2 separate regions of the Homo sapiens genome follow, and region 1 is linked to region 2. Evidence: promoter capture Hi-C in human tissues and cell types (Jung and others, 2019). All regions are on one chromosome and are shown on one strand. Each heading gives the region's core, a stretch centred on a gene start or on the middle of the fragment in contact. The rest is flanking DNA. Distances are from core to core; before and after follow the strand shown.

Region 1 (3,748 bases), core at 69-2,568, 210 kb before region 2:
AAAGGTGTCTTAGTCTGTTTTGTGTTACTATAACAGAATACCACAAACTGGGTAATTTATTTTATAAAGGAACTCATTTCTCACAGTTCTGGATGCTGGCAAGTCCACAGTGAAGGGCTTGCATATGGTGAAGACTTTTTTGCTGCATCATCCCACAGTAGAAGGCAGAAGGGCAGGACAGAATGCATACGGACTTTTTAACGATAAATTCTGTCTTTAAATCGTCTCTTTCCTGTCTTATTTTACTGTAAGAAGTTAAAAGTAGCCATGCACAGCATGGAGGACTTGCTGTTTAGATATTTCTTTCACCAGATATCCTAGTCCATCACTCTTAACTTTCACCCTTCATAAAGCCTCTGGGCACGGACACTGTTCAGCCCAGTTATTTGCTACTTTATAACAAGGGTGGCCTTTGCTCTAGTTTCCAATACCTTGTTCTTCAGTTCCATCTGAAACCTCATCAGAATGGCCTTTACTGTCCATATTTCTTTCATTATGCTGGTCACAACCACCTAAATAATCTCTAATAAGTTCCAGACTTTCTCTCGTCTTCTCTGTTTTTGAGCCCTCACCAGGATTGCCCTTAATGCACCATTCACAGCAATCCAAGCTTTTTCTACCTTGCTACACCAAATTCTTCCAGCCTCTATCCATTATCCAGTTCCTAAGCCACTTCCACATTTGTGGGTATTTCTCATAGCAACAGCCCTACTTCTCAGTACCAATTTTCTGTCTTAGTCCATATTATGTTGCTATAACTGAATACCACAGATTAAGCAATTTCTAAAGAAAAGAAATTCATTTCTCACAGTTCCGGAAACTGGGAAGTCCAAGGTCAAGAAGAGTGCATCTGGTGAGGGCCTTCTTGCTGAGTCATTCCATGGCAGAAAGCAGAAGAGCAAGAGAGCACACAGGGGAAGGGAGCAAAACTCATCCTTTTATCAGGAACTTGCTCCTGCAATAACTAACCCACTCCCATAACAACAACATTAATTCTTTCATGAGGGCAGAGCTAATGCCCTAATCATGACCTAATCATCCTCATGACCTAATCATCCCTTGAAAGTCCCAACTCTCAATATTGTTACATTGGAGATTAAGCTTCTAACACACAAACTTTAGGGAACACGTTCTAGTCACAGCAGAGAGGGAACACAGGCAGACCCCCAGCAGACTCCATAAGTAGAAAAAGTGGAGTGCAAAAATATTAGGGCAGCTAGAGTTTGCAAGCAGAATATTAGAGAGGAGAGGGCTTCACAGAGAGGGAACGCTGGAAAGTTCTTTAGTCCTCCCCATGTATTCAGCAGAATACTAATGTAAGGAATTGTAAGGAAACTGTGAAGCCTAGGAAATAAACACCTAAAAGACGAAGGGGAATCAGTATGCAATATGCACACAGTCTGGGAATAGTACCTCTGTATACCTCACACTGGTCCTGCTTCTCTAGTCGAACACATACATACATATATAAAGAAACTTGTTACAGGGAATTGGCTTATGTGGTTATTAGAGTTGGTTAAGCAGCTTCTGTAAGGCTGTGTCTCTGCATCTGATATAGAGTCCATAGGGAAAGCAGTCAGTAAGGGAATGTCAGGAAAAGACTATCACAAGCAAGCTGAAACCCTGTAATCGTGAGCTAGTACTCCATGAGGATAGACTGAAATCCATGTCTTTTTTTGTTGCCTCTGACCTTAGTGGAATGGTAATTTTTTTTTTCTTTTTTCTTTTTTTTGTTTTTTTGAGACAGGCTCTGGTTCTGTCAACCAGGCTAGAGCACAGTGGCACTTATCTCGGCTCAGTGCAACCTCCACCTCCCAGACTCAAGACATCCTCCCACCTCAGCCTCCTGAGTAGCTGGGAATAGTGGCTCATGCCACCATGCCTGGATAATTTTTTGTATTTTTTATAGATCGGGGTTTCACCATGTTGCCCATCCTGGTATCAAACTCCTGAGCTCAAGTGGTCTGCCTGCCACAGCCTCCCAAAGTGCTGAGATTACAGGTGTGAGCCACCACGCCTGGCCAGGGCTCTTTTTTATGGAACTAAAAACACATACCTGGCTCATGAGTAAGGAAAAGGTGAAGAAAAATCCAGGGAAGATAGCGCAGTTGTAGGCTCAGACACTGGTCATGTCATTGAGGTAAGTCAGCTACAAAAGTGCTTCTTTCCTTCCGGTTTCCAAATCATGAAAGATTAGTTCTTGTGATCCACCCAATCTGTAAATACACAAGAAAGGAAAGTCTGTGAAATGTAGTTCAGCCTAGCCAAGTTTTTATATTATAAAGCCATCATATAGAGAGAGAAAAAAGAAAAAAAATAAGAGTATCAGTGAACTATGAACAACTTTAATTAGCCTTAAATATGTGCAACTGGAGTTTCCAAAGTAGAGGAGAGAAGAGTGGGACAGAAAAATTCTAAGGAATAATGGAGAAAAATTTTTAAAATTTGATGAAAATTATAACTGAGATCCTAGAAGCTTAATGACCCTTAAACACAGGAAACATAAAATCTCTACACCAAGGCACATAATAATCAAATTGCTCAAATTGTTCAAAACTAGTGATAAAGGCAAAAATCTTAAAAGCAGTCAGAGAAAAAAAAAATTTTACATACAAGGGACCAAAGATACAATGACAGCAGATTTCTCATTGTTTACAGACAATGTAAATAAGAAGACAGTGGAGCCACAACTTTAAAGTTCTGAGAGGAAAAAAAAAATAGGCCAGGCATGAATAGTGCAAGCCTGTAATCCTAACACTTTGGGAGTCCAACAGGGAAGGATCACTTGAGCCTGGAGTTTGAGAGCAGCCTGGGCAACCAACCTAGCAAGCCCCGTCTCTATTAGAAAACAACAACAACAATTGTCAACATAGAATCCTATACCCAACAAAACCAGTCTTTCAAAAATGAAGGTTAAATAAAAATATTTCAGACATGCAAAAACTTTAAGAATTCATCACCTTCAGACCCACACTACAAAAAATAACAAAGGAAGTTCTGCCAGCAGAAAGAAAATAACACCAGATAAAAAATATGGATCTACACAAAAAATGAAAAGCACTAGAAATGGTAACTTTTTGGGTAAATTTTTTCCTATTAAACCTCTTAAAAAGATAATTAACCATTTTAAACAAAATAAAAATGATGTAGTACAAAAGTAAAATGTATAACAACACAAAAGGCTGAGAGGAAAGAAGTAGATGTACATGTTTGTCAAGTTCTAATACTGTATGTAAAGTGGTACAAAATATATGTACTAAACACATCCTATGAACAGGCATTTTTGGGCCCTAGTTACAATGATGAAAACAATCTACCCCCTCTCCTTGAGGAATTTACCTCCTCCTGTACTCTCCCAAGAAGCTTAATCAGCTTTTACACTGAGCAGAAAAACTGCGGGGTAAGACCTCTTTTTAAAGTGACCTTCTTTTTAATGTTTCAGTTCTACGCTGGCAATGCATTATGGAGTAAATGACATAAGATGCAGCCACTATTTTAATGTTAAAGAAATATGTGCCTGTAGGTAAGATATATTGTTATATACTACCATTAAAGTTCATTCTATGGTCACAAGAAAGGACTGAAGGTTCCACCTCCAGGTCAACTGAGATTACAATCAACATCTAACCAAAAGTCCCCAATTTCATTCACAATGAAGCTCTACAATTAATAATACTCAAACACATTTTCTAAACTTATTTCAATAAGATTGAAATTACTCCCATTTAAACAGATGTGATTCTAAGAA
Region 2 (4,020 bases), core at 1,448-3,947:
TTATGTTGTCTTTCTAGTATGTATATATTTTTTAAATTGAGGTATCACTGACATACAATAAGCCATGCATAAAGTGTATGATTTGATAAGTTTTGCCATATGTATATGTCTCTCAAAAAATAACACAATCAAGATAACAAACATAATCATACCCCAAAAAGTTTCCTTATGCCCTTTTATAATCTCTCCATTCCAGCCTGCTCCTCTCCTGCCTCCAGCCCCAAGAAACCACCAATCTGTTTTCTTTTACTATAGTTTTCCTTTTCTAGAATTTTATATAAATGCTATCACACAGTATGTACTCTTTTTAAAGTTATTATTTTTTTTGGTGTGATGTCTTTCACAACACAGAATTATTTTGAGATTCACCCATGTTGTTGCATATATATCAGTAGTTCATTCCTTGTTATTACTGAGTAGTATTCCACTGTATGGATATGCCACAACTTAACTCAAATGATGGCCATTTGAATTGTTTCCAGTTTTTGGCTATTATAAATTAAGCTGTTATGAAAATTTGTATGCAAGTCTTTGTAATGTAAGGACATATGTTTTCATTTCTCTTGGGTAAATAACAAGAGTGAAATGGCTAGATAATAAGGTAGGTGTATATTTAATTTTTAAAGAATCTGCAAAGTTTTTCCAAAGAGACTGTGCCATTGTACATTTCCATCAGTATTGTATGGGTTCCACTTCTGATACATCTTTGCCTACACTTGATGTTGTCTCTACTTTTAGCTTTTCTAGTAAGTGTGTAATACTGTTTCACTGCGGTTTTAATTTGCATTTCTCTAATGACTAACAATGTTGAGCATCTTTTCAAATATTTAATTGCTTTCCATATATCTTCTTTGGTGAAGTATCTGTTCAAATCTTTTGCCTATTTTTAAAAATTGGTTTATTTTCTTATGAGTGAGTTTTGAGAGTCCTTTATATATTTTGGAAACAAGTCTTTTATCAAATATTTTTGGTATTTTCTCCCAGTCTGTGGCTTGTCTTTTCATTCTCTAAAAGTATCTTCTGAAAAGCAGAAGATTTAACTTTGATTAAGTCCAATTTATCATGTTTTTTTCCACTGGCTAATACTGTTTAGAATTTGTGGTGTATATGTATGTACGTTTATGTGCACCCACTCATGGTAAATGTTCATTTTAATAGGTTTAGCGAAGGGACAGTATGCACATGTATGTCCTTGTCATGCCATTGTTTCTGGAAATCTAATTATTTAAAACAAGTGCTGTGCATAAACTTTAAAGTGAAAATACTATAGATTTTATAAAATGAACTGTTTCTGTGACAGTTAAAATCTCTGTGCTAGGTGGCCCCACAATGGCTCCCAATGGTTCTCATATCCTGGCATTCAAACCTTGTGTATCTCTTCCCACACTGAATCATGACTAATCTGAGGAGAATGTATTGAGGAAATCATGATGCATGATTTCCAAAACTAGGTCATAAAAGCTTTGGCCTTGGCCTCTTGGATTGCTCACTTTGGGAGAAAGCTACATGCCATGTTGTGAAAACCCTCACATGGGAAGGAACTGACGCTTCCTGCCAACAACCAGCACCCACTTGACAGCCATGTGAGTAAACCACCTTGGAGGTGGATCCTCCAAACTCAGTCAAGCTTCAGATGACTTCAGCCCCACATGACACCTGACTGCAACCTCAGCAGAGACCCTCAGCCAGTACCACCCAGCCAAGCTGCTCTTGAATTCTGGGTCCACAGAAACTGTCAAAAGATAACAATGTTTATTGTTTTTAGCCACAAAGCATTAGAGTAGTTTATTATCCAGCAGTAGATACATAATATACTCTCCATGGCAGGACTTGTTTTGAAAGTGGTGGATAAATCTAATTCCTGTGGAAGGAATAACTAAAATCTGTTTCCAGGCTGGGCCGGGACACACATCCCAGTACAGGGCAGGAAAGGGCTCTAAGCCAAATGTTAATAGCTCTTTCGCTAAACTTCGAAAATTGTCCTTAAAAAAATCTATTTCCCTAAAGCACGCCACATATTGGAGTCCCAGCAGCACCTATTTTGTGTCTTCAAAAAACACAATTGGAAAACAAAACAATACAAACTCACGAGTACATACTATGTGCCAGGCACAACTGTAAATAATTTACCTATCAATTAACTAATTTAATGAATTAACCCTGAACAGCCTCAAGAGGTTGGTACCACCATCATAATACCCATTTAATAGACAAGGAAACCGGGGCAAAGAAACTTGCTGCAGGTCACACAACTAGCAAGTGGTGCAGCTGGGTTTCTGGACCTACGTAGTCCATACACATTCGGCCTTCTGAGTAATGGGTTCGCCTTTCCCCACACCCACTTTTCCCACTGCAGCGCACCCACACAATCCAGACAGTTTTGGCGCATGTGAAGGGCGCGATGGTCCCTTCATTATCTGGAAGGACACCCAGAGTGGCAAATGCCAGATAACCACGAATAATACCCAGGATAGTAACCATTCTGTGGCCTGAGCTGGCCAGACGTCATGCCCCGAAGGAGCTACCAGGTGTGGGCGCTGCAGGACCCCTGCCTGGGGCCGCCCGCTCGGGCCCGTGTTGTCTCAGGCAGTAGGGACACTGGCGCTGACGGCGGGGGTAGGAAACCACAGAGACTGGCAACTTCCCAGGTTCCTAGAGAGGAGGGGCATGGAAAACGCACTTCCGGCGGAGGGTCTCAAGCTTTCCCCGGTGTCGGCGGCAGGTGGAATTTCCACGCTTTATCTGCGCCTGCGCCGCGCGGGATTCGCGGTCCGAGCTGAAGAGGTTCGCGGTCCGGGTAACTGATTGGTTTTCCTGGGGCTTGTTCTGCCTGGTTTTGCAACCCCTTTGCTTTTTGGGGTGAGGAGTTGGCGGAAAGGAGAGGGGCCCAAGTAGCACAGAGGGCATTTGCGGGGTGCGAGGCAGCATCAATCTCACCGGTGCTTCTTTATTTTCTCTTCAGTTTCACTTCTCCGAACCCTGAGGCAGTGTGTGAAGCTGGGACGCCAGCCATGTTCCAGACCGCTTGGCGCCAGGTGAGTGAGCATCCTCTCCCTCCCTCCCACCCTTTAGATGTCAAGAGAGAGCAGGTGTCACCTCTGCATTCAGATCTTGAGTTGTGTAGGCCAGTGGCTTCCATTGTGCATCTGTCACTATGAGAGGGATGGAGAGGTGAGAATGCCCAAATTAAGACTAGAAAACTAGTGAGTGTGGGGGGATTGGTTGGGATTTGGCATTTGAAGCCAGCTTAAAAATAAAAATTATGAAATGTGGAAATCTGCATTATTACATCCAATAAAGACCCCTTTCACCCTAGTCCGCAGGCTTGGAGAAGTACTTACTTCTTCAGTATAGCAATTCTAGTAACTGTTTTGTAGATTCCATTGTATTTTCTACATAGGTCATCTATGAGTAAAGATAGTTTTACTCCTTTCTTTCCAGTCTGGATGCCTTTTATTTTATTTTGTCTTGCCTTACTGCACTGGCTAGAAGCATTATTTCAATATTGAACAGAAGTGGTGAGAGCAGATATCTTTGTCTTATTTATGCTTTTAAAGTGAAAGCATTCAATCTTTCACACTGAAGACTGATGTTCACTGTAGGTTTCTTGCTTTTTTGTTTTGTTTTGTTTTGTAAATGTCCTTTATCAGGCATTCTCTTCTAGTACTACTTTGGTGAGAGTTTTTATAGGAATGGATGTTGGATTTTGACAATTGCTTTTTCTGTGTCTATTTAGATGACCATATGGTTTTTTTTTTTTTTTTTTTTTGAGATGGAGTCTTGCTCTATCGACAGGCTGGAGTGCAGTGGCGCGATCCTGGTTCACTGCACCCTCCACCTCTGGGGTTCAAGCGATTCTCCTGCCTCAGCCTCCCGAGTAGCTGGGACTACAAGCACGCGCCACCACACCCAGCTAATTTTTGTATTTTTAGTAGAGACCAGGTTTCACCATGTTGGCCAGGATGGTCTCGATCCCTTGACCTCGTGATTCCCCCACCTTGGCTTCCCAAAGTGCTGGGA

The links. The method cuts DNA at HindIII sites, captures the fragments that hold promoters and counts their contacts. A contact is called where the count stands out against the background at its distance.
Region 1: a fragment that was not itself captured here is called in contact with the fragment with the promoter of ZNF620 in region 2 in 1 of the 25 tissues and cell types used here (aorta).

The regions. Positions count from the first base shown.
Region 1 is chr3:40,299,181-40,302,928 of GRCh38, forward strand. EIF1B-AS1 (EIF1B antisense RNA 1) reads right to left here. Exons shown (of 3, transcript NR_033965.1): 2 at 2,057-2,216. Among named protein-coding and RNA genes, the nearest start is that of EIF1B-AS1, 8.6 kb to the right of the region's middle. RefSeq lists an enhancer at 1,545-2,744. The HindIII fragment of the contact is 3,202 bases long and covers 1-2,919 here.
Region 2 is chr3:40,503,342-40,507,361 of GRCh38, forward strand. ZNF620 (zinc finger protein 620) reads left to right here and starts at 2,698. Exons shown (of 5, transcript NM_175888.4): 1 at 2,698-2,797; 2 at 2,963-3,035. The coding sequence starts at 3,012. The HindIII fragment of the contact is 12,099 bases long and covers 1-4,020 here.